Linked DNA regions of Homo sapiens: all the other regions are linked to region 6. Evidence: promoter capture Hi-C in 16 types of primary human blood cells and fetal thymus (Javierre and others, 2016). All regions are on one chromosome and are shown on one strand. Each heading gives the region's core, a stretch centred on a gene start or on the middle of the fragment in contact. The rest is flanking DNA. Distances are from core to core; before and after follow the strand shown. Region 1 has its middle 30 kb from the start of MSTO1. Region 2 overlaps YY1AP1 (YY1 associated protein 1). Region 3 overlaps DAP3 (death associated protein 3). Region 4 holds the start of MSTO1 (misato mitochondrial distribution and morphology regulator 1). Region 5 holds the start of YY1AP1 (YY1 associated protein 1). Region 6 holds the start of FDPS (farnesyl diphosphate synthase).

Region 1 (3,739 bases), core at 1,106-3,605, 330 kb before region 6:
TGTACACCCCCTCCCCTTTTGAAGTCCTTAATAAAAACCTGCTGGTTTTTGCGCTCAGGTGGACATCGCTGTCCTACAGAAATGTTATGTCACCCCCAGAGGCCCAGCTGTAAAATTCCTCTGTTTGTACTCTTTCTCTTTATTTCTCAGCTGGCTGACACTTATGGAAAATAGAAAGAACCTACGTTGAAATATTGGCGGTGGGTTCCCCCGATAACAAACCATCTGAAGTCTGCACTCTCCTCAAGTGCATTCTGAAACACTGGAACTCCTTTGATTGTGAGACTCTGAAGAAAAAACAGCTTATATTCTATTGCACAAGGGCAAGGCCCTCTTACAGACAGGAGGTCTAACCTCCTCAGGGAAGCATTAATTTCAATACTATCCAACAACTAGATCTTATTTTTCCCAGTGAGACAACCCCCATCTTTGTAAGTGTTGTAAAATTAACCCTTCCCTCTTGGCAGTCATATCAGGCAAGTCTACAGAATATAATTCCCCAAAGTCAGAGAGGCAAACCCTTGAGGAACCCTCTAATGCAACTTCTCAGTGCCCTAACTGCCTCCTGTATCCAGGGCCCCCAATAGCCATATCATCAGCCCCTCCAGCTATGCTACCCAAAAAGCTGCCAACTTCGCTGTTGCCTTTGCAGGAAATGCTGAATGGACATGGTGCTACTAGGTTTCAAGTTCCCTTCTCATTGCAGGACCTTAGACAAATAAAGGGATAGCTAGGCAAGTTCTCTGATGACCTTCATAGATATATAGAGGCTTTCTAAAATCTAATCCAAGTGTTTGATCTTACATGGGGAGATGCTATGCTACTTTTATGCCAAACCCTAACTGTTGCAGAGAAACAAGAAGCCCTACAGACAGCAGGGATATTCAGAGATGAACAGCATGTCTCCTATAACCAGTCAAAAGAAAAACCCAGTCAAAAGGGGAAACATGGTAAAAAAGAGACAGAATCCCCTTTCCCAACAGGAAGAGAAACTATGCCCCTTAAAAACCCTAATTGGGGCTGGGCGTGGTGGCTCACACCTGTAATTTCAGCACTTTGGGAGGCCGAGGCGGGTGGATCGCCTGAAGTTGAGAGTTTGAGACCAGCCTGACCAACATGGAGAGACCCCGTCTCTACTAAAAATACAAAATTAGCTGGGCATGGTGGCGCATGCCTGTAATCCCAGCTACTCGGGAGGCTGAGGCAGGAGAATCACTTGAACCCAGAAGATGGAGGTTGCGGTGAGCCGAGATTGGGCCATTGCACTCCAGCCTGGGTAACAAGAGCAAAACTCCGAAAAAGAAAAAAACCTCTAATTGGAGTCCTGGTGATCCCATAGACAAGTGGAAAAGAAAACACTTTCTGATGTGCATATTAAAAGGCTTGCAAAGAATCAGAACCAAAACTCTTAATTACTGTAAACTGTCCTTGTTGAATCAGAAACCAAATGAAAATCTCTCAGCCTTTTTGGAAAGGCTGAAAAAAGCTTTAGTGAAACACACCTCCCTGTCTCTCAATTCAATAAAGAACAGGTTCATTACTCAGGCAGCACCTGATAGCAGACGCAAGTTGCTGAAACAGGCCCTGTCCAAAGATCATTCTAGTTTTTGTCACCCTCAAGTTGAAACTTTGTAGTATGTAAAGACACTCTCCTCTGTGCCCCAACCAAGGAGGTCTCAGGAAGGTACTAAGGCTCTCTTCAATTTCATAGCTGAAAGGGAATATAGGGTCTCAAAATCTAAAGCTCAGCTTTGTCAAACTTCAGTAAAGTATCTGGGTCTGGTCTTATCAGAAGGGAACAGAGCACCAGGTAAGGAAAGGATTAAGCCCATTTCCTTTAACAGTTAAGGGTATTCTTAGGCATTACTGGATTTTGCAGACTGTGAGTGCCTGGGTATGGTGAAATAGCTTGCCCTTTATACCACCTCACAAAAGAAACTCAAGCAGCTAAAACTCACTCCCTAACTTGGGAACCTAAAACTCAAAAGCCTTTAACCAGTTAAAGCAAGCTTTATTTAATACACCATCCATCCCTCAGTCTTCCCATAGGGAGGGCATTTAGTTTCTATGTATCACAAAGGAAGGGAATGGCCCTGGGAGTTTTTTTGTTTTTGTTTTTTTGTGTGTGTGTCTTTTTTTTTTTTTTTTTTTTTTTTTTGAGACATAGTCTCGCTCTGTCGTCCAGGCTGGAGTGCAGTGGCACGATCTCGGCTCAATGCAAGCTCCACCTCCTGGGTTCACGCCATTCTCCTGCCTCAGCCTCCCGAGTAGCCAGGACAACAGGCACCCGCCACCATGCCCAGCTAATTTTTTGTATTTTTAGTAGAGACGGGGTTTCACTGTGTTAGCCAGGATGGTCTCGATCTCCTGACCTTGTGATCCACCCGCTTTGGCCTTCCAAAGTGCTGGGATTACAGGAGTGAGCCACCATGCCTGGCTGGCCCTGGGAGTTTTAACTAAGGCTAAAGGTCCAACTCAACAGCCAGTAGGTTACCTAAGCAAGGAACTTCGCCTCGTGGCTAAAGGATGGCCAGCCTGCCTCCAAGCAGTTGCAGCAGTGGCTTTGCTGGTGGCAGAAACCACTGGGTTAAACATGGGGAATAACTTAACTGTTTGCACCCCACACAGTATAGCAGGACTGCTGTCCTCTAAGGGAAGTCTCTGGCTAACAGAAAAATCGCCTCATCAAAAATCAAGCTTTGCTGCTAGAGGAATCTGCAGTCCAGTTGAAAACCTGCCCTTGCCTAAACCCAGCCACTTTCTCCCAGAGGAAATTGGGGAACCTGAACATGATTGTGAACAGGTAGTGGTACAAACCAGTAAAAGAAATGATAAGGATCACTGTTTATATTCTCTGTAAAGTTTTGATTAATGAAAAACAATTTTCATGAAGAGCACTTGGCTTAATTGAAACTGAGTATCCAACCTATAGGTATATTCAAGAGGCCTTTATGTTTTTCCCTCCATAAATCTTGTTTTTCTGGAAAAGGCTTTTTTTCTCTGGCAACTGAATTACTTTTTCCCACTCTGTCTTGCCATTCTTGGTGCATGGATGAAAGGCCCTAGGATGACTTCTGGTGGCCTGGGACTCCTTGGGAAAACAGACAAGATGCCAGAAATCCCATTTAGGAAAAAAATCTGTTTTCCACATGGAATCCCTGGAATCCCTTTTAAAATCTGTTTTTGTCTTCCAACTGTGCATGTTTATTAGGCTCCAAAAACTACATGCTTTTCTGGCCCTATTCCTAAATAGCTCCATCCTGAGCTGCTGGATCTTCTTCTATCTATATAGTCCTATATGGGTTATGTGTGTGATGTCTGTTAAAAAAGACCTCTAATTAATTGACTTGAAGGGTAAGTGCTTGGATTAAATATTTTTTAAAGGGATAATGAAGGTTGTGGTACCTTTCAGTTCATGTGACTTTAATTTTTGAAAAATAAAAACAGCCTTAAAAATTATTGGTAAAGTGTAGATGTCTTCAAGATGTAAATATATGGTCTAAATTATGCAGGTCAGATACTAGGTTTGCTGAATGTTTTAAGGTTGTAAACTTCTTCTTTGGCCTTTAAACTTGCCTGCTTCACAATTGGTAAGACCTGGGGACATATGGAAGTAACCATTCCCCTAACTATGCTGGAAGGAGTCAGACTTTATCTGCACCTAGCACATAATTAAAACAACTTTACCAGGTTTTACATTGAAGTTGAAAATTGCTAAGAGTTACTGTTATAACATGTA
Region 2 (4,185 bases), core at 1,529-4,028, 350 kb before region 6:
GAATTTTCACATTTAAACCATCTCCGGGGCCGGGCGCAGTGGCTCACGCCTGTAATCCCAGCACTTTGGGAGGCTGAGGCGGGTGGATCACGAGGTCGGGAAATCGAGACCATCCTGGCTAATGTGGTGAAACCCCGTCTCTACTAAAAGTACAAAAAAATTAGCCGGGTGTGGTGGCGGGCGTCTGTAGTCCCAGGTACTCTGGAGGCTGAGGCAGGAGAATGGCGTGAACCTGGGAGGTGGAGCTTGCAGTGAGCCGAGATCTCGCCACTACACTCCAGCCTGGGTGACAGAGCGAGACTCCGTATTAAAAAAAAAAAAAAAAAAATCTCCATTCATGGTCTTTTGATTGTATCGATGTCAGTTTCCTCGTTTTTGTTTTTGTTTTATTTTTTTTCTTTTTTTGAGACAGAGTCTCACTGTTGCTCACTGCAGCCTCTGCCTCCTGGGTTCAAGCGATTCTCCTGCCTCAGCCTCCTGAGTAGCTGGGATTAGCCACCACACCCAGCTAATTTTTGTATTTTTAGTAGAGATGGGGTTTTGCCATGTTGGCCAGGTGATCTCGAACCCCTGACCTCAAGTGATCTGCCCACCTTGGCCTCCCATAGTGCTGGGATTACAGGCATGAGCCACCACATCCTCCATGTCTGGCCAGTTTCCTGGTAGTAATATTGTACTGTGTACCTTGTTTATATGTATAGCTCTTGTTTCTATGTAACATAAAAACATTATATTGGGAGAAACTGGTTGAAGGGTACATGGGACCTCTTGGTACTATTTTTTGCAATTTCCTATGAATATAATTATTTCAAAATAAAAGGAAAAAATAATACTCTCCTCTGTCACTGTATCTAGAATTCTAGATAGGAAATAATTTTTTTAAGAAGCTTTTAAGGGCCTCACTTCATTTTCTTCTAACTCCTAGTGTGGTGTTAAGAAATTTCATGCCATTTAACTTTTTTTTTTTTTTTCCGAGACAGGGTCCCACCCTGTTGCCCAGTTTGGAGCGTGGCTAAATCATGGCTCACTGGTGTCTCCAACCCGGTGTGCACCACTATGCCCAGCTAATTTTTTTTTTTTTTTTTTTTAAGACATGGTCTCGTTATGTTGGCCAGGCTGGTCTCAAACTCCTGGCCTCAAGTGCTCGTCCTGTCTTGGCCTCCCAAAGTAATGGGATTATAGGCATGAGCCATGGCCCCATTTAACTCTTGAGTCTTTGTGTAACACCTGTTTTTCTCAACCTCTGACAGCATGCAGGATTTTTCCTTTGGCTTCAATATTTTGAAAATGCATGATAATATGCCTTAGTATTTGTCTATTTTTATCCATGGTTTTTTAAAAAGTACTTTCTTTTTGTTTTTGTTTGTTTGTTTGTTTTGAGACAGAGTCTCGCTCCATTGCCCAGGCTGGAGTGCAATGGCGTGATCTTGGCTCACTGGAACCTCTGCCTCCCAGGTTCAAGCAATTGTCCTGTTTCAGCGTCCCGAGGAGCTGGGACTACAGGCGCTCACCACCACACCCTGCTAATTTTTGTATTTTTAGTAGAGACGGGGTTTCACCTTGTTGGTCAGGCTGGTCTCAAACTCCTGACCTCGTGACCCACCCACCTCAGCCTCCCAGAGTGCTGGGATTACAGGTGTGGGCCACCATGCCTGGCGTATCCATGGTTTTAAGGCACACGTGATAAACCTTATTCTTCTGCAGAAATAATTTTTTTTTTTTTTTTTGAGATGGAGTCTCACTCTGTTGCCAGGCTGGAGTGCAGTGGCGTGATGTCGGCCCACTGCACTCTCCACCTCCTGGGTTCAAGTGATTCTCGTGCCTCAGCCTCCCGAGTAGCTGAGATTACAGGCACGCGCCACCACACTTAGCTAATTTTTGTATTTTTAGTAGAGATGGGGTTTCACCATGTTGGCCAGGATGGTCTTGATCTCCTGACCTTGTGATCTGCCTGCCTCGGCCTCCCAAAGTGCTGGGATTACAGGCATAAGCCACCACGCCTGGCCAGAAGTAATTTGTGTTTAAGTTTTAGTTTTGTGTCATTTTTCGTGCACACCTTTGTACTTTTGTTGGGGGATGGGGCGGGGTGTCGGGGTTGGAGTCTTGCTCTGTTGCCCAGGCTGGAGTGCAGTGGTGCAGTCTTGGCTCACTGCAACCTCTTAATTCCTCAGTTCAAGTGATTCTCCTGCCTCAGCCTGCCAAGTAGCTAGGATCACAGGCGTGCACCACCACACCCAGCTAATTTTTTTTTGTACTTTATTAGAGACAGGGTTTCGCCATGTTGGCCAGGCTGGTCATGAACTCCTGACCTCCAGTGATCCATCCTCCTCGTTCTCCCAAAGTGCTGGCATTACAGGCATGAGCCACCATGCCCAGCCCTTTGTACATTTTTTAATGTAGGATGCCATTTGTCCACTTGACTCTCCCACTAGTCTGTAAGCTCCATGAGAGCAGGAATTGCTTCCCTTATGTGTGTGCTTAGCTTTTAGCACAGTGCCTAGGATATAGAAAACATCTTATGTTCATCATGTTGGATGAACAGATGCTTATTGTCATGGTTTAAGTTCAGTTCTTATCTTCTTTTTTTTTTTTTGAGATGGAGTCTCACCCTGTTACCAACGCTGGAGTGCAGTGGCATGATCTTGGCTCACTGCAATCTCCACCCTACCACCCCCACTGCCAGGTTCAAGCGATTCTTTTGCCCCAGCCTCCCAAGTAACTGGGATTACAGGCACCCACCACCACACCCAGCTAATTTTTGTATTTTTAGTAGAGATGGAGTTTCACCATGTTGGCCAGGCTGGTCTCAAACTCTCAATCTCAAGTGATCTGCCCGCCTCAGCCTCACAAAGTGCTGGGTTTACAGATGTGAGCCACCAAGGCCAGCCTATTTACTCTTAAAACTGAACTGCCTCGGTCTTTTTTTTTTTCCTTCCCTTCTGATGCCCTTCACACCATCATTTGCTTAAAGTCTTTGATGTGTCCATTTTATAGATTACGATGCTGTCTTTGCAGCTGTTGAGCAGGAACAAATCTTACATAAGATTGCTCTTAGCATCTGCTTCCTTTTCTCTCTGTGACCTAAACTCTCCCCTTCCTGGCAACCAGAATGGAGATCATCAGTTAGAAAATATTGAATAGGGCTGGGCGCGGTGGCTGACGCCTGTAATCCTAGCACTTTGGGAGGCCGAGGCGGGTGGATCACGAGGTCAGGAGATCGAGACCATCCTGGCTAACACAGTGAAACCCTGTCTCTACTAAAAATACAAAAAAATCAGCCGGGTGTGGTGGCGGGCACCTGTAGTCCCAGCTACTCCGGAGGCTGAGGCAGGAGAATGGCGTGAACCTGGGAGGTGGAGCTTGCAGTGAGCGGAGATCGCGCCATTGCACTCCATCCTGGGCGACAGAGCAAGACTCCGTCTCAAAAAGAAAATACTGAATAACTATAAAATCTTTAAATAGAGATTAGTTTAATTTGAAATGTACAAGTATTCAGCATATGCTATTCGTATATGTGTGTTCATGGATGTTTGTGTATGTGGTCTTGTGTGTGTGTGTGTGTGTGTGTGTGTGTGTGTGTTTCTCTTGATCCACCACCACCCCATTCACCAGCCTGACAGAAGACAGTGTTTCCAGAAGGAATGTAATTCATGCGCATTTTTTTCATGTTAAGTTTTATAAGAAGACCAAACAGCTGCCAGTCCTAGGAAAATGCTGTGAAGAGATCCAGCCACATCAGTGGAAGCCACCTATAGAGAGAGAAGAACACCGGCTCCCATTCTGGTTAAAGGTACAGCCCTCTTCCTCGAAGTCTGTAGGAGGCAGAAGGTCACTGAAAGTTCTGAGAGAATATCAAGGACTTCCTTAATCGTCTAATGCTTTAGTTGTAGAACTAGGACTTCAGGAATCTTCCTGATTCACCTTTCTTCCCTTACTTTTCTGCCCTTCTCCGGGTGATTCTACAACATTTTCAAAATAATGGGTAAAATGGTAATTTGCTAAAGGAAATTCAGAGAAGAGTTTCTAAAGTGTATAATTGGACTGTGGTCTTTGTAGAAATTTCATATGCAGAGTCCCTTGGAAAGATGCCTTGAGCTTGTCTCAGGTCCCTAAACTTAGAAAGTCCTATTCTTTTTCCCAAATTCTGACATGTGCTGGATCAGAGTGTTCTCATTTCCAATAGGC
Region 3 (4,068 bases), core at 781-3,280, 410 kb before region 6:
ATTCACTTTAAATGCTGCTCTTCTCACAACAAACCAAGTTAGTTCCCTCTCCAGACCCTAGGAAATCCACTTACAAAACTGCAAAATAGCACCAGATTGGTTATTAGAAAAATTGGGTTCTGAACCTGCCCTGGTAGAAAATTGTGGGCAAGTAGTTTAATTTCTTTAGTACTCTCCATACCAGAGTTTGTTAAGTTATGGCTGGGCACCTGTTTTGTAAATAGAGTTTTACTGGAACATGTTCACACCCATTTGTTTATGGCAGAGTTGAGTACTTGTGACAGATCATCTCAGTCCATCGGCCTGAAATATTCACTACATGGTCCTTTAAGAAAAAGCCTGTCACCCAACACATAATATAAGCAATAATAATTGGTAAACTTGCCCAGTAAGAAATTAAACTTAGTAAGTATTGAGTATTCGACAACTCTATGCTCAGCAAAATCCGTGGAACTAGGTGAATTCACTAGTAGAGATTACATGGGAACTGATACAGACCGAGCTGGCCAGTGTATGTTACCACAGTATCAGACAGGGACAGGGAGAATCTGGGTTCCAGAGTGCTATCTCAGGTGCACTATCTGAGTAAATGCAAATCTACTAAGCTTCTTTCAGTTTCAGTTTTCCTATGCAAAATGAGGACAGGAACACAAATCATAAGCCCTGAGAAACCCCATATACATATTAGTAACTCACCGGGTCATTCTCATTGGTGCGGGAAATAGCTCTCGGACTCTCAACTGGAACCTGGTTATCTAGGTGAGCAGCAATGCTTTGGCGAGCCTGGGTCCCCATGTGTAAAAAACGCCCAGGGTCCAACTATAAGAGAAACCATTTCAGTGTTACGGGGTTATCAAACTTTTTTTTTTTTTTTTTGAGATGGAGTTTCTCTCTTGTTGCCCAAGCTGGAGTGCAATGGCGTGATCTCAGGCTCACTACAACCTCCGCCTTCCAGGTTCAAGTGATTCTCCTGCCTCAGCTTCCTGAGTAACTGGGATTACAGGCGTGCGCCACCACACCCGGCTGATTTTTTATATTTTTAGTAGAAACAAGATTTCACCATATGGGCCAGGCTGGTCTTGAACTCCTGAACTCAGGTGATCTGCCCGCCTCTGCCTCCCAAAATGCTGGGATTACAGGCTTGAGCCACCACACCTGGCTAATCAAACTTTTTATGCTTGCCAAAACACTGAGAAGGTGAGCCATGTCTGCAATAGGGATGTCACTAACATACATTTTTCTTTTTTTTTTTGAGATGGAGTCTCACTCTGTCGCCCAGGCTGGAGTGCAGTGGCGCGATCTCGGCTCACTGCAAGCTCCGCCTCCTGGGTTTACGCCATTCTCCTGCCTCAGCCTCCCGAGTAGCTGGGACTACAGGCACCCGCCACCACGCCTGGCTAATTTTTTGTATTTTTAGTAGAGGTGTATTTTTAGTAGGGGTTTCACTGTGTTAGCCAGGATGGTCTCGATCTCATGACCTCATGATCCGCCCGCCTCTGCCTCCCAAAGTGCTGGGATTACAGGCGTGAGCCACCGCGCCCGGCAACATTTTTCTTCTATGTAAAAAGGATCCCTGTTATTATTTAAAATTCACTAAGTCCAATGACATTATTCATATTCTGTATCTGTTCCAGTCTGTGTATTGCCTTATCAGGGGTCTGTCCTATACGGAAACAAACAATTCTGTCAGAGATTATTCAGGAGCATACATAGCATAGCCATTAGCAAACTTGAAGCAGGAAAGCTCTTTTAATGCGCTTGCACAGCGATGAATGGTTGTCAAAACTGTGTAATTCTCATTCTCTGTCAGTCACCTCAGTTATCAGGGGATCAGTGCAATGCTCCTCACTATGTGACAGCTATAATTACATGCCCTGTAACAATTTTCCTGCTAATTGTGCCCTGGAATAAAGGATCTTTCATTAGAGACATGTAATAAGGGAGTATGTCAAATACACAGCTAAGTGAAAGCAAACTGCTCTATAGGTAACTCAGTGAACTGTACACCGAAACCTCTGAACCAACAGGGAGGGGAAGGGGGCGGATTTCGGTAGACAAATCTAACAAAATGGTAAGTGAAAAACCCCAAAACTGAGCTTAAGGATAACAAACCTTATGTAGAAAGTGAAAAGATGTGTTATGAGGAAAAGATTAGGGAATGCAGCCAGGAGAAGCAAGAGAACAGAAATATAATGGATAGTGTAATAAGGGAGTTGCTTAATAAATAGGTTATCATATGAAAGCTACCAGTATTTTATAGTCTCACCAAGCAGCTTCTCTCTCTCTCTCTCTCTCTTTTTTTTAAGACAGGGTCTTGCTCTGTCACCCAGGCTGGAGTGCAGTGGCACGATCACGGCACACTGTAGTCTCAAACTCCCAGGCCCAAGCCATGCTCCCATCTCAGGCTCCCAAGTAGCTGGGACTACAGGTGCATGCCACTATGCCCAGCTAATTTTTTTAATTTTTTGTAGACAGGGTCTTGCTATGTTGCCCAGGCTGCTCTCCAACTTGCTGCACTCACGCGATCCTCCTGCCTCAGCCTCCCAAAGTGCTGGGATGATAGGTGTGAGCCACTGTACCTGGCTCACCAAGCAGCTTTTTGTGGGTTTTTTTTTTTTTTTTGAGATGGAGTCTTGCTCTGTTGCCCAGGCTGGGGTGCAGTGGCACAATCTTGGCTCTCTGCAACCTCCGCCTCCTGGGTTCAAGTGATTCTCCTGACACAGCCTCCTGAGCAGCTGGGATTATAGGAGTGTGCCACCATGCCCAGCTAATTTTTCTATTTTTAGTAGAGACAGGATTTTGCCATGTTGGCCAGGCTGGTCTCAAACTCCTGACCTCAGGTGGTCCTCCCACCCCAGGCTCCCAAAGTGCTGGGATTACAGGCGTGAGCCACCGTGCCCAGCCTACCAAGCAGCTTTTTGAGTGCAGAAAATATATGTTATCTCTGTACCATCCCTCCTCACACTTACACCCATTTTATGACATGATCCTAAATTATGTGTCTAACATTCCCACTACACAGGTTGAGAGACAGTATTGTACCCATCACTTTTGTTTTTCTTTTTTTTTGAGACGGAGTCTCACTCTTGTCGCCCAGGCTGGGATGCAATGGCATGATCTCAGCTCACTACAACCTCTGCCCCCAGGTTCAAGTGGTTCTCCTGCCTCAGTAGCTGGGATTACAGGCGCCCGCCATCACGCCTGACTAATTTTTGTATTTTTAGTGGAGACTGGGTTTCACCATGTTGGTCATGCTGGTCTGGAACTCCTGACCTCAGGTGATCTGCCCGCCTTAGCCTCCCAAAGTGCTGGGATTATGGGTGTGAGCCACTATGCCCAGCCAACACATAACATTTTAACTTGTATCTTTATCTCTAAATCTTTGATTTTTTCATCGTTCATAGTCCTTAACCTTCCCGAAAATAGGTTTAACCTTCGACTAATCTAAAAGCTTGGATGGAGCCAGGTGTGGTGGTCCACTCCTGTAGTCCCAGCTAGTTGGGAACTAAAGTGGAAGGACTGCTTGAGGGCAGGAGTTCCACATCAGCCAGGGAAGCACAGTGAGACCCCGACAATAAAAAAATTTTAAAAAGCTTAGAAGGTTCCAGAACGATGTCAAAATAAGTCTCAAATTCCTTAGCATAACAATCTAGACCACTGTGATGACTTCAGCCTACCTTTGTAATTTCATTTATAACCATATGACCATGCTGAAACATGTCACTTTTATGCCTCTATACTTCTGCTCATTCTACTTCAACTTCCCTCTCTCCCCATTTAAATCTTTCCCATTCATCAAGCCTCAACTCGAATGTCACATCCTCAGTGAAAATTTGCCAGACACCTCCAGTCAAAAGTAATTCTCTTTCCTTTCTGCTAATAGCACTCTTTGTATTGCACAGCAATTTTATTACACTGCCTTGAGTTGTACTCATGCCTACTGTTAACTGAGTATCTATTAGATGTTAGGCAATACAGTATTGTACATGTACTAGTTTTAAACCTAGAAATCCTAGAAGATAGGCAGAATATTATCAACCCTGTGTTATGATGGGGAAGATAAGGTTC
Region 4 (4,221 bases), core at 871-3,370, 300 kb before region 6:
GGGGTCAGAAAAATCGACATTTAGTTCCAGGCAGTTTAGAGGCAAAGGTTGCTTCGTCCTCCTTGAGTTGGCTGGCCACACCGCATAGCCTCCTTTCTGTTCACCGAGTCGCAGTCCTTAGGAAAAGGAGTGCTTTTTCCCAAAATATCATTCTAAGACACTTAAAATGATTAAAATCCCCGTTTACCTGCCCCTATGGAGACCCTCGGGTTGTGGCACCGGGTTAAAAAGTTCAGGACAGAGGCCCTCACCTCTGCACTCAGAAAGTCTTGGAGATAAGGGTTCTTGGGATAGAGTTCCTCTTTGTGTGTGGTGAGCTTCCCCTGCCTGAAAGAGTTTGGAGATTGATCAAAGAAACTGCACTCTGATCAGAGTTATCCAGCGTTCTGCGTACATACACGATCCCCACCCTTATCCATACATCAGTTACACACCATGCTATTGCAGCATCCAACTGTTTGTCCCTGTAGAGTCCACCTTCCTCTTTTAGGGAGCTCAAACTACCTGTACAGAAATAACAGAGACAATGTTAGGTCAAAGCCTGGGCACCCTTCCCCTCTAGCTAACCTTCCTCTGATCACCTGACAACCTGCTGTCACCATCTCTCCAGCACTTGGCTCTTCCAAGCTTTCTGGGATATACACTAGTTGGGGGAAAAACCTTGGCTTAGGAGAATCTAGATTCCATCTTTCGGTTCCCAGCTTAGTCATTAGCTGTGGGACGCGGGGGGAACCACATCCAGGGGTCTGACAGGAGTGCTGCAGTTCAAGTCCTCACTGTCTCCAGGGCCTAGCAGCCTATTCCCGAAATGGCTCTTGAGCAACTGTCGTGGGCCCCTCGAGTGTTGGCATGTTGTGCTCAGCTCCTCATCTCCGGTCCTGGAGCTCGGTAAGGTGGGAGGGTCTTGAAGATAACGGCAGCGCAAGGACTAGGCACGCGGAAGGGAAATAAGGGGCATCGGCTAACTCTGCCACCACCTCACCCTTCAGATCCATGAGGATGAGTCGCGGCGTGTAGGTCTCCTGGCCGTGCAGCGTCCGGCCCGTACGATACAGGACGTCGGGGCACAGCTCTCCCGGGGGCTCCTTGGAATCGGTCGCTCGGCCCAGCGCAGCATCCTGGGGAAGCAGAGAGGACGAGGCAGGCCGGCTGAACGTCGGGACTGTAGATCCCGAAGGGCTCCTCGGGGGCAGCTGCCGGCTGACCTCACCTGCTGGTTCCACCAGTGCGCGCCCACGAAACCGGCAAAATGTCCCAACTGCAGTGTGAGCACCTCCCGGGCCCCGCCCGCCATACTGCGCTGCTCCACGGGGCCGCCGCGCCTCAGCCGCGCCGCTCGCTGCTCCTAGCCGATTGGCTTGGCAGGCGCGTGGGCGGGTGTTATTCTCGGCTACTTATTGGCCCGCAAACACATCCTTTCCCATTGGAGAAACGATGCGCCGATCCCTTCCTACCTCTTCCTAGACGTGGCCCAGTCCGGCTTCTCTGTGGTTGCCTGTGAGGGGCGGGGCTCCACGGGCCACGCCGTTGCTCCTGCTCCACGTTGGAGCGGGGTGGGCGCCGTCTCCGCCGCTGACTTGGGGCCGCCAGGGCGCGGGCCGTGGAAGGCTCTGCTTCCTACTTGTCTTGAGGTCTTATCCCTTCTCACAGATCTCTCCGCTGGCTGATAGCTCCCCGGGCAAAAAGAAAACCTTGCCAGAAAAGCGGAAGCTCCCCTAAAGCCTCCCATGCCCCTTCATCTCTTCAGAAGTCACGTGGACCACGACTAATAACCTGTGGACTGGCTTAGCTATCATATCTCTATCATTTACACGTATTTATCTATCTCTGTGTATCTAACACCTTATGTAAAGAGAGTATGTATCTGTTGGCGTCTTTTGCTCAATATGGTTTATGTAATTCATATTTTTGCAAATATCTATAATTCATTTTCATCACTGCGGAATAGTCCATTGTATGAATACGCCACCACTGATCTATTCTAAAGAAAGAATAGGCTGGGCGCGGTGGTTCACGCCTGTAATCCCAGCACTTTGGGAGGCTGAGGCGGGCAGATCACGAGGTCAAGAGATCGAGACCATCCTGGCTAACACGGTGAAACCCCATCTCTACTAAAAATACAAAAAAAAATTAGCTGGGCGTGGTGGCGGGCGCCTGTAGTCCCAGCTACTCGGGAGGCTGAGGCAGGCGAATGGCGTGAACCCGGGAGGCGGAGCTTGCAGTGAGCCGAGATCACGCCAATGCACTCCATCCTGGGCGACAGAGCGAGACTCTGTCTCAAAAAAAAAAAAAAAAAAAATATATATATATATATATATATATATACTGCTGATAATAGCTTTTGGGATTGTTTCCAATTTTTGGGCTATTAGGTGCTATGATTAACATTCTTGTGTGTATTTAGAAACAAGGCAAGGGCCGGGTGCGGTAGTTTACGCCTGTAATCCCAACACTTTGGGAGGCCGAGGCAGGAGGATCAACTGAGGTCAGGAGGTTGAGACCAGCCTGGCTAACATGATGAAACCCCGGTCTCTACTAAAAATACAAAACATGTAGCCGGGCGTGGTGGCGGGCCCTTGTACTCCCAGCTGCTCAGGAGGCTGAGTCAGGGAATCATTTGAACCTGGGAGGTGGAAGTTGCAGTGAGCCGATATCACGCCACTGCACTCCAGCCTGGGAAACAAGAGCAAAACTCCTCTCTAAAAAATAAAAAATAAAAAAATAAAAATAAAAATAAAAAAGGCCGGGCGCCGCGGTTCAAGCCTGTAATCCCAGCACTTTGGGAGGCCGAGGCGGGTGGATCACGAGGTCAGGAGATCGAGACCATCCTGGCTAACACGGTGAAACCCCGTCTCTACTAAAAATACTAACAATTAGCCGGGCGTGGTGACGGGCGCGACCTGTAGTCCCAGCTACTTGGGAGGCGGAGGCAGGACAATGGCGTGAACCCGGGAGGCGGAGCTTGCGGTGAGCCGAGATCGCGCCACTGCACTCCACCTTGGGCAACAGAGCCAGACTCCATCTCAAAAAAAAAAAAAAAAAAAAAGAGATAAGGCAAATATTGGTTGGGCGCAGAGGCTCACGCCTGTATTCCCACGTTTTGGTGAGGCTGAGGCAGGAAGATCGCTTGAGTCCAGAAATTCGAGAATGTGAGGGTAGACTGGACAATGTAGTGAGACTCCCCCTCCCCCTATCCTCTCTATAAAAGAATTTTTCAAAAAATTAGCTAGGCAGCCCACATCTGTAGTCCTAACCAGAGGCTAGGGTGAGAGGATCGCTTCAGCGCAGGAATTAGAGGCTGCGGTGAACCATGATTGGAGCACTGCACTGCAGCCAGAGACAGAGGGAGACCCTGTCTCAAAATTTTAAAAAGTGACAAAATGTTAATTGAATCTAGGTGAAGATTATAGGTGTTCTTTTGCAGTACTCTCTGAGCATTCTTGTAGGTTTGAAATTTTTTCAAGAAATAAAGGTTAGATGCTCTTATCTCTTCTGAGCTCTTTGTATTTTCACATGTATTATATTTAGTTTTGTTTATTTATTTTGAGACTGTCTCACTCTCTTTGCCCTGGCTGGAGTGCAGTGGTGCAATCTCCCGGCTCACTGAAGCTTCAACCTCTTGGGCTGAAGCGATCCTCCCACCTCAGCCTCCCAAGTAGCTGCAATTACAGGCATAGGCCACTGCACCCGGCTAATTTTTGTATTTTTTGTACAGAAGGGGTTTCACCATCTTGCCCAGGCTGGTCTCCTGAGCTCAAGCGATCTGCCCACTTCGGCCTCCCAAAATATTGGGATTACAGGCGTGAGCCAATATGCCCGGCTACTATTTCACTTTTCTAAGTATGATGTGGGCTGAAAAGTTTCTATAGATACTCTGACAGTTTAAGGAAGTTCTCTGTCCTGATTTGCTAAGAGTTTTGATCATGAATAGATTTGAATGTTTTTTACAGCTTTCTCCAAACCAAGATAATTACATTATTTTATCCTTCCTTTGTTGTGCTAATGAATAAATTACATCGTTAGATTATCATGTAATACTATCTTGCATTCCTCAAATAAACCTAAACTCGGCTAGGCGCGGTGGCTCAGACCTGTAATACTAGCACTTTGGGAGGCCGAGGCAGGCGGATCACAAGGTCAGGAGTTCGAGACCATCCTGGCCAACATAGTGAAAACCCTGTCTCTACTAAAAATACAAAAATTATCTGGGCGTGGTGGCAC
Region 5 (4,088 bases), core at 1,489-3,988, 380 kb before region 6:
ATACCTCACATGTCCATCAATTGATGAATAAACATAACGTGGTATAGCCATATAATGGAATATTATTTGGCAATACGAAACAAAGTTCTGATGCATTACACAACTGGATGAACCTTCAAAACAAAGTAAAAGAAGACAGTTGCATATAGTATGATTTCAATTACATGAAATGTCCATAATTTGCTTATTAATTACATAAACTGATTTAGTGGTTGCGAGAGGCAATGGGAGGGAGGAATGGAAAGCAACTTACTGATAAGATTCTTTTGGGGGTGATAAAAAATGTTCTAAAGTTCGATAGTGGAGGCTGGGCATGGTGGCTCACGCCTGTAATCCCAGCACTTTGGGAGGCTGAGGCAGGTGGATCATGAGGTCAGGAGATCGAGACCAGCCTGGCTAACACGGTGAAACCCCGTCTCTACTAAAAATACAAAAAATTAGCTGGACGTGGTGGCGGGTGCCTGTAGTCCCAGCTACTCAGGAGGCTGAGGTAGGAGAATGGCGCGAACCCGGGAGGCGGAGCTTGCAGTGAGCCGAGATCGCGCCACTGCACTCCAGCCTGGGTGACAGAGCGAGACTCCGTCTCAAAAAAAAAATAAAATAAATTAGCTGGATGTGGTGGCATGTGCCTGTAGTCCTAGTTGCTCAGATGGCTGAGGTGGGAGGATCCCTTGAGCCAAGGAGCTTGAGGTTGCAGTGAGCCAGGACTGCACTACTGCCTTCCAGCCTTGGCGACATAGATCCTATCTCAAAGCAAACAAACAAAAAAAAGTGTAAATTTACAGAAGAGTTGCAAAGGTAGTACAAAGTGCTTTCTTACAATTTTCATTAGAGTTTCCTTAATGTTACATACATATGACCATGGTACAATTTTCAAAATTAAGAAATTAAAGCTGGTACAATACTATTTAAAAATTGCAGACTTTATTTGCATTTCCTCAGCTTTTCTGCTAATGTCTTCTTTCTTTTTTTGAGACAGGGTCTCGCTCTGTCACCTAGGCTGCAGTGTGATGGCGTGATCTCGGCTAACTTTGCAACCTCTTCCTCAATCCTCCTGCTTCAGCCTCCCAAGTAGCTCAGACTACAAGCGTGTGCCACACCTGTCTAATTTTTGTGTCTTTTTGTAGAGATGGGGTTTCACCGTGTTGCCTAAGCTGGTCTCGAACTCCTAGGCTCAAGCAATGCGCCCTCCTCCGCCTCCCAAAGTGCTGAGATTACAGGTGTGAGCCACTGCGCCCAGCCTAATGTCTTCTTTCTGTTACAGGATCCAGTAGAAGATTCCACATCTGGAGATCTTTTCCTTTCTTTATATCTATCACCGACATTACCTACTCTTTAAAAATTTTGTAAAAGGCATAAATTTGAAAAATATATCCTCATTAATCTAAATCAAGTCATTGATACAACTATTTAACAAGACGCCCGGCCTGCTTTGTTTTATTAACGACTTGGAGGGACAGAACACTACCCATTACACCCACAAACGTTATCGACATCAACAGAACTGTAAATGACAACACGGCAATACTCTGCACCTTCCCTATGCCTAGGAGCTAATTCCACTTTACATATATTATTATTTCGTGTGTGTGTGTGTGTGTGTGACGGAGTCTCGCTTTGTCGCCAGGCTGGAGTGCAGTGGCGCGATCTCGGCTCACTGCAACTTCCGCCGCCCGGGTTCAAGCAATTCTCCTGCCTCAGCCTCCCGAGTAGCTGGGGCTACAGGCGCCCGCCACCACGGCCGGCTAATATTTGTATTTTTAGTAGAGACGGGGTTTCACCATGTTGGCCAGGATTGTCTCGATCTCTTCACCTTGTCATCCACCTGCCTCGGCCTCCCAAAGTGCTGGGATTACAGGCGTGAGCCACCGCGCCCAGCCCTATCTTATTATTTCACACACCAACCCTGGAGGCATGTTTGGAGTTGCCTAATTTTTATGTACACTTTTTGATAAGGAACTAACAAAAATAACTTGCTGAAGACAAGGGAAACTGAGTCCAGAACTGAATGAGAAGCACATGGTTTCTTCATCCTCCATCACCAGGCTGTCTAACGAGGCTGAAGTACCATCCATGAGTAAGTGCGTCAAGGGCAAACAAACATCATCGCATATGGACAGTGGTGTGAAATTCGAGAAATCCGAGGAGGGTTAACAACAACAAAAAGCACACCACCACGCCGAACTTCCTCGGGTCCCAGGTTGGCAACTCAACGCCCGGGAGGAATCCCCCCCGGAGGCGCGCCGGTCTACCGGCCTCACTCCCTACCTCCTGGAGGTCCGGAGTCCCGCTCCTTTCCCTCAGCGGTACAATACCCGTGTCGGTCCATTCCCTCACCGTGAGTCGAGGACTAGTTCTCCAGACTAGGCGACCGACACACGCTGCCTGGGGCCGGCTCCAAAGCGCCCGTCCTGAGACTGCAAAAAAGGGTCGGGTCATCCGGCAGGAAACGACTCAACGCGCAGCCGCCGCGGCCTCCAACCACCGGCCGGCAGAGGGGCGCTAGGCCGCCCTCGATCCCCTCGCCGCGGTCCCATGGAGGAGGAGGCGAGCCGCAGCGCCGCGGCGACGAACCCAGGGAGGTAGGTTGTCATGGGACTCGGCCGGCCACCCTGGCAATTCCAGTCAAACGGCAAGCCAGACTCGCTTTGCCGGTCCCTTCCTCTCCTGCCCCTGCAGCCGCCAGGAATGGAACAGTCCCGCGGTGGGGACTGTGGGAGGCGCACGCGCGAGGAGTGTAGGGTGGGGGTGCTGGCGGCGGCTGCTTTGGCGGCGGTTGGTGGCCGTGCGGGCGGGGAGGGAGGGGGAGGAGAGAAGAGGAGGTGGAGAAGGCTTGGGCTCGCGCCGCTGAAGGTACGCGTGAGGGCCTGCGCTGGAGCCGGCTTGACAGGGTCTGAGGGGGAGTGGAGAACTGGGCGAGGAGGTTCCCGTGGGTGAGCGCGTACGGGATGGCTGGCTCGCAGGACGGCCGAAGGTGGTGGTTGGTGGGAGCAGCCAGCGACGAGCCCGTAGACACTCGTACGCGTGCGGGCTGACGTGCGCGCTACATGGCCGGAGTCGGGCGAAGCGGGGGACCGTGGGGAAGAACGCGAGGAGGGAGGAGTGGGAGGTTGGGGGTGTCGCTAGGCGCCCTTAGCTCCCTCCCTCTGGAGGAGCTGCCGCGGCCACTCTGCTGCCGCCGCTGCCGCCGCCATTTTGGGTTCGCTTTGCGAGGGGAAACGATCCCAGTGTCGGTTGCGGGATCCGCCTCCTCTCAGTTTGCCCCTTTAGCCCTCCACCTTTCCCTTCTCCTCTCTCGCATTTCCGCCAGTCGGCTTACCCGCTGGCCGCCTCCTGACAAGCGGGAGGGATCCGCGGTGGACCCAGGGAAGCGGAGGAGCCTGGCGGCCACCCCCTCTTCCTCACTTCCCTGTACTCTCATCGCTCTCGGCCTCCGACACGGTGAGTAGAACGATTTGGGCCGGCATTCGGGCCTAAGCACTCTCTCAGCGATTGAATCCTGGGCTTTCTGGGAGCCACTGTCATCTCCCGGACCTGGACCTCTGGGAGAGCAGTGGTGAAGATGGGGGAGGGGAGAGCAGGGAGGGGGATCCTGAGCCTACCGGGAAGTCCCTCCAGGCGGGGTGAAGGGGTGTCCCTGACAGGCAGACTCCCGGAGGGGGCTGGGAAGTAAGCGAGTGGAGGCGGAGTCGGCTGTGCCCCTGACAGGTTAGTTTGTGTTTGTAGGCATGATCGGAGCCTCCCCCATAGTCCAGTTTGTGTGTGTTTAATTAAGGGATAAGAGTGGTCGAGGACACGATCTTGAGAGGGGATTTTACCTGTGTGACAAGGTCTGTGGTGTCCCTGCCGCGTTGAACGGTATGTGGGAACGACAGGATGATCTCAGTGTTGTACGTTTAATAAATGTCACTGGTTAGTTTGTACATGGAAAGAGATGTTTTTGGTCTAGCAGACAGATGGTCTGTTGGTGTGTAGCGGCTGTGTTGGTGTGTGTATGTGAGGATGGCAAGTGTTTCCGTAAGAGTTTGCCTTTATTTGTGTAAGTGTAATGGAGTTCCCCTTATAAGTTAGCTTATTTCTTGAATAAA
Region 6 (4,170 bases), core at 1,253-3,752:
TGGCTATCAATCAGACCTAACTAACAGGGAAGACTTCATCTCGCTATGTCACTCAGGCTGGAGTGCAGTGGCACAATCACGGCTCACTGCAACCTCCGCCTCCCAGGTTCAAGTGATTCTCCTGCCTCAGCCTCCTGAGTAGCTGGGACTACATGTGGGCGCCACCACGCCCAGCTAATTTTTGTATTTTTAGTAGAGACGGGGGTTTCACCATGTTGACCAGGCTGGTCTCGAACTCCTGACCTCATGATCCCCCCCACCTCAGCCTCCCAAAGTCCTGGGATTACAGGCGTGAGCCACCATGCCGGGCCAAGACTCTTTTAATCCCCATTCCAGTATAGGCAAAGCCCCCCTTTCCCTTCATTCCCCTGAGATATATGAGATAGACAGCATTTATAAAAAGAATTTTAATAGATACTCCAGAATCAACAGGAAAAAAATTGGCAAGTATCACAGCAATAGTTCATGTTCTAGAATAGGGGTTTCTAATGATACAATAACTTCACTCAGGCCCCAGGGAGATAGGACAATATCAGACTGCCTTCTTCCCCGGTCTCTGCCAACCTAACAGCTTCTGATTTCAGGACACAAAATCTAAGACTTGCCAGGTTCAAGGCCTCCACCCCCAAAGCAAAGCAGTTTGGATGACCCACCTTCCATCAGAGCCAAAAGTCCGGTTGATGGACTGAGTAAGTATACTTGCCCAGGCCCCAACCTCTCCAGAGCAGACTCGAGTCCCTCAGGTAAAAGCTTTCTCGGCCAGGCGCGGTGGCTCACACCTGTAATCCCAGCACTTTGGGAGGCCGAGGTGGGTGGATCACCTGAGGTCAGGAGTTCGAGACCAGCCTGGTCAACACAGTGAAACCCCGTCTCTATTAAAAATACAAAAGTTTGCTGGATGTGGTGGCACGCACCTGTAATCCCAGCTACTCAGAAGGCTGAGGCAGGAGAATCACTTGAACCCAGGAGGTGGAGGTTGCAGCAAGCCGAGATCACACCATCGCACTCCAGCCCAGGTGACAGAGCAAGGCTCTGTCTCAAAAAAAAAAAAAAAGCTTTCTCTCACATCTGTCAAAAGTCCCCCATAAGCCACAGGTGAATGCCACACAGGTACAGAGCAACTGAACCAAAGCCTTACTCCCCCAAGTCATGAATCCCTCACCTCCTTGAGCCGGGCAATAGCATCTCCTATCTCTGGGTGCCCCATCTCATCCTCAGTCAGCACCCTAACGATCTGGGAGAAGTGCTGAACGAAATCCTGCTTTTCTTGGGCATAAACATCTGAATTCTGGTCTCCGTTCATTCTGAGGGAGGAGCAAAGGGCTCTAAGTAGAAGAAAAACAAGTCAGAAACCTGATCAGCTGCTCCCCTCCCCAAGGCCCCTCACCCCAACCACACTCACCGAGGTTCCTCTGTCCACGCTTGGCACCAGCAGCGGGCACTGTGCCAGGCCAGGACTGGGTACCCGTGCACCAGGGAGGGCCGCCGTAGGGAACCCAGCCACCTCTCCCGGGGTGCCCAGTAGGGGGCTGGCAGCAGGAAGACCCCCACAGATCTCAACCAGCGGGACAGGGGCATCCTGGGAGTGGCATAGGGAGGGGGCACTAAGCACTCCCTGCAGGGGCAAGCACCAAAGGCAGAGGCATGGTGGCAGCTCCCCAGATAACTCCCACCCCAGCCTTAGCCCAGAGTGCCCCTCCCTCTTGTGGAATGTGCTTGGGGACAATTACAGGAAGGATACGCAGGGAACAAAAAAGTATGGCTGGGTGACTGAGACCCAACTAATCACCACTTACAATAAACAGGCTAGAACTCAGTGCCTTCAAGATGGCGTGCACAAGGCTGGGTAAGGAGGCGGTACAGAGTAAAGTACCCCAGGATTAGGGGCTGAAAGGACCCTTAAGTCATCCTATTTTACACAAGCCAAACTGAGGCTCTAGGAGGTAGGAAGATAGTAGAGGCAGAGCCAAATCTAGAACCCAGGTCTCCCCTGGGCAGTGGAGAGGGGTGCCCAGGGTCTGAGTTACGCCCCAAGGAGGAAAGAAGCATTGGAGCGAGAACCCATGGGTGCTGCATCCATATGGTCCGGGGTGCTTGAACCGCGCGTCCCAAGCCCCACAGGAATCGCTAGGACTGAGCAGATAGGCTCGGAGCAACTCTGGACGGGAGAGAAGGGCTCGCAGCAAAGGAGTAAACCGGGGTCCGGGCATATTGGGGATTCCAGGAAAGCACAAGGGCAGAGTTGGGAAGTCTCCACACCCCTAGAAGGCCAGCCAGTCTAGCCCACCGACCTTCAAAACGGACACAACAGGCTGGCCTTCCGATGCCTCACAGTATCGTTACAGAAGTAAGGCCCGGTCTCGGCCCCCTTCCTCCAAGGCCCAGCACACATCCTCTCTCACCTGTTCCCAGATACGGATTCCTGCTCGGTCCCGCTTGTTGGCGGGTACTCCTAAAAGCAGAATCCGCTCCGCGATCGGCTCTGTGGGTCGAGTAGTTCCCGCTCTCCCCACACTAAGGGCGGAAATATATAATTAGACTACAACTCCCAATGTGCCCGCGGGAGGGACAGATAACGCGATCCTGCGTGTCCTGGCTGGGCGAAGATGAGCCGCGCTGATTGGCTGCTGGCCGTCGTGTGAGCATGGCGCACTGTGGCACTGTGACGGACGACCAATGGAAGGGCTGAAGTCTAGAGGTCGCGGCTGGAGGCGTCAGTGCCGGAAGCGAGCCAGGCTGGGAACGTCCCCGCTGTGGCTTTGGCTGCCTGTCTTACTCAAGTTTTCATTATCTTCCTGGGCAGCTGATTGGCACGTTAGTAAAACGCAGCAGGACTAGCTTTCTCACTTATTAGTTCTCTAACTTTAGGCAAATCATTTAACGTCTCTGATCCTCAGTGAACTTGCTTGAAACTAGCTTTCCTCATCTGTTGAATGAGGGTGGTAATACCATGAGGTAATGTGTGCAAAGTGCTTTAAGGGCTTAAGAAAGATGAGTCTTGGGCCGGGCACGGTGGCTCACGCCTGTAATCCCAGCACTTTGGGAGGCCGAGGCGGGTGGATCATGAGGTCAGGAGTTCGAGACCAGCCTGACCAATGTGGTGAAACCCCGTCTCTACTAAAAATACAAAAAAAAAAAATTAGTCGGGCGTGGTGGCGCGCGCCTGTAATCCCAGCCACTCAGGAGGGCTGAGGCGGGAGAATCGCTTGAACTCGTAAGGCAGAGGTTGCAGTGAGCTGAGATCCAGCGAACCACTGCACTCTAGCTGGGGAGACAGAGCAAGACTCCGTCTCAAAAAAAAAAAAAAAAAAAGATGAGTCTCACACTTGTAATTCCAGCACTTTGGGCGGATCACCTGCGGTCAGGAATCTGAGACCAGCCTGGTCAACATGGCAAAACCCCTTCTCTACTAAAAATACAAAAATTACCCAGGTGTGCTGGTCCGCGCCTTAATTCCAGCTACGTGGGAGGCTGCAACCTCGCTTCCCGGGTTCAAGTGATTCTCCTGGATTACAGGTGCCTGCCAGCATGCCCAGCTAATTTTTGTGTTTTTAGTAGAGAGGGGGTTTCTCCAGATTGGCCAGCCTGGTCTCGAACTCCTGACCTCAAGTGATCCAGCCACCTCGACCTCTGAAAGTGCTGGGATTACAAGTACGAGCCACTTGGCCCAGGCAGTTATTTATTGATTATAAGCTAAACAAGGGTTGGATTATTCATGCCTCTGCTTTGTAGACCATATACAGTTAACTCCCTGATGTCGACACAGCATGTGGTAGGAGTATAGCGTTGAAGACCACCAGAGGTCACTCTTGTTGCCATCTTGGTTTTGGTAGGTTTTGGCCAGTTTCTTTACTGCAATCTGTTTTATCAGCAAGGTCTTTATGACCTGTATCTTGAGCCAATCTCCTATCTCATCCTGTGACTTAGAATGCCTAAACCAACTGGAAATGCAGTCCAGTAGGTCTCAGCCTTATTCTACCCAGTCCCTATTCAAGATGGAGTTGCTCTGGTTCACGCACCTCTGACAATTATGCTAAGTGAAATAAGCCAGACTCAAAAGGACAGATACTGTATGATTCCGTGTATATAAGGTACTGTCACCGGTGGAGGGTGTCCAGGTTCTTGGCATCTTGAACAAAGAATTGGACAAAACACGGCTGGGTGCAGTGG

What was found. Contacts are between HindIII fragments. The CHiCAGO score rates a contact against its expected background, and 5 or more counts as called.
Region 1: a fragment that was not itself captured here is called in contact with the fragment with the promoter of FDPS in region 6 in 1 of 17 cell types (endothelial precursors); the score reaches 7.0 in endothelial precursors.
Region 2: a fragment that was not itself captured here is called in contact with the fragment with the promoter of FDPS in region 6 in 1 of 17 cell types (endothelial precursors); the score reaches 5.2 in endothelial precursors.
Region 3: a fragment that was not itself captured here is called in contact with the fragment with the promoter of FDPS in region 6 in 1 of 17 cell types (endothelial precursors); the score reaches 5.0 in endothelial precursors.
Region 4: a contact is called between a fragment that was not itself captured here and the fragment with the promoter of FDPS in region 6, in 1 of 17 cell types (endothelial precursors). The highest score is 5.4, in endothelial precursors.
Region 5: a contact is called between the fragment with the promoter of YY1AP1 here and the fragment with the promoter of FDPS in region 6, in 1 of 17 cell types (endothelial precursors). The highest score is 5.1, in endothelial precursors.

Annotation. Positions count from the first base shown.
Region 1 is chr1:155,638,659-155,642,397 of GRCh38, reverse strand. It overlaps the pseudogene LOC100419798. Among named protein-coding and RNA genes, the nearest start is that of MSTO1, 30 kb to the right of the region's middle. The HindIII fragment of the contact is 688 bases long and covers 2,012-2,699 here.
Region 2 is chr1:155,660,912-155,665,096 of GRCh38, reverse strand. YY1AP1 (YY1 associated protein 1) reads left to right here. Exons shown (of 11, transcript NM_139119.3): 10 at 3,674-3,790; 11 at 4,184-4,185. Among named protein-coding and RNA genes, the nearest start is that of YY1AP1, 26 kb to the left of the region's middle. The HindIII fragment of the contact is 3,778 bases long and covers 890-4,185 here.
Region 3 is chr1:155,713,757-155,717,824 of GRCh38, reverse strand. DAP3 (death associated protein 3) reads right to left here. Exons shown (of 13, transcript NM_004632.4): 3 at 697-819. Among named protein-coding and RNA genes, the nearest start is that of DAP3, 27 kb to the right of the region's middle. The HindIII fragment of the contact is 2,846 bases long and covers 608-3,453 here.
Region 4 is chr1:155,607,322-155,611,542 of GRCh38, reverse strand. MSTO1 (misato mitochondrial distribution and morphology regulator 1) reads right to left here and starts at 1,325. Exons shown (of 14, transcript NM_018116.4): 1 at 1,211-1,325; 2 at 983-1,118; 3 at 435-504; 4 at 252-327. The coding sequence starts at 1,294. It overlaps LOC105371452 (a long non-coding RNA gene), which reads left to right. Exons shown (of 2, transcript XR_922171.2): 2 at 1,651-1,934. RefSeq lists enhancers at 589-1,463, 1,464-2,338. The HindIII fragment of the contact is 2,982 bases long and covers 630-3,611 here.
Region 5 is chr1:155,687,424-155,691,511 of GRCh38, reverse strand. It overlaps YY1AP1 (YY1 associated protein 1), which reads left to right and starts at 2,738. Exons shown (of 11, transcript NM_139119.3): 1 at 2,738-2,853; 2 at 3,311-3,441. DAP3 (death associated protein 3) reads right to left here and starts at 2,421. Exons shown (of 13, transcript NM_004632.4): 1 at 2,338-2,421. It also overlaps the pseudogene LOC124904430. RefSeq lists enhancers at 2,273-2,322, 2,698-3,332 and a silencer at 2,813-2,862. The HindIII fragment of the contact is 12,603 bases long and covers 1-4,088 here.
Region 6 is chr1:155,307,198-155,311,367 of GRCh38, reverse strand. It overlaps FDPS (farnesyl diphosphate synthase), which reads right to left and starts at 2,502. Exons shown (of 11, transcript NM_002004.4): 1 at 2,403-2,502; 2 at 1,403-1,579; 3 at 1,163-1,325. The coding sequence starts at 1,578. It also overlaps a transcript of PKLR not described here. RefSeq lists enhancers at 2,143-2,312, 2,643-2,772, 3,675-3,744. The HindIII fragment of the contact is 5,584 bases long and covers 1,058-4,170 here.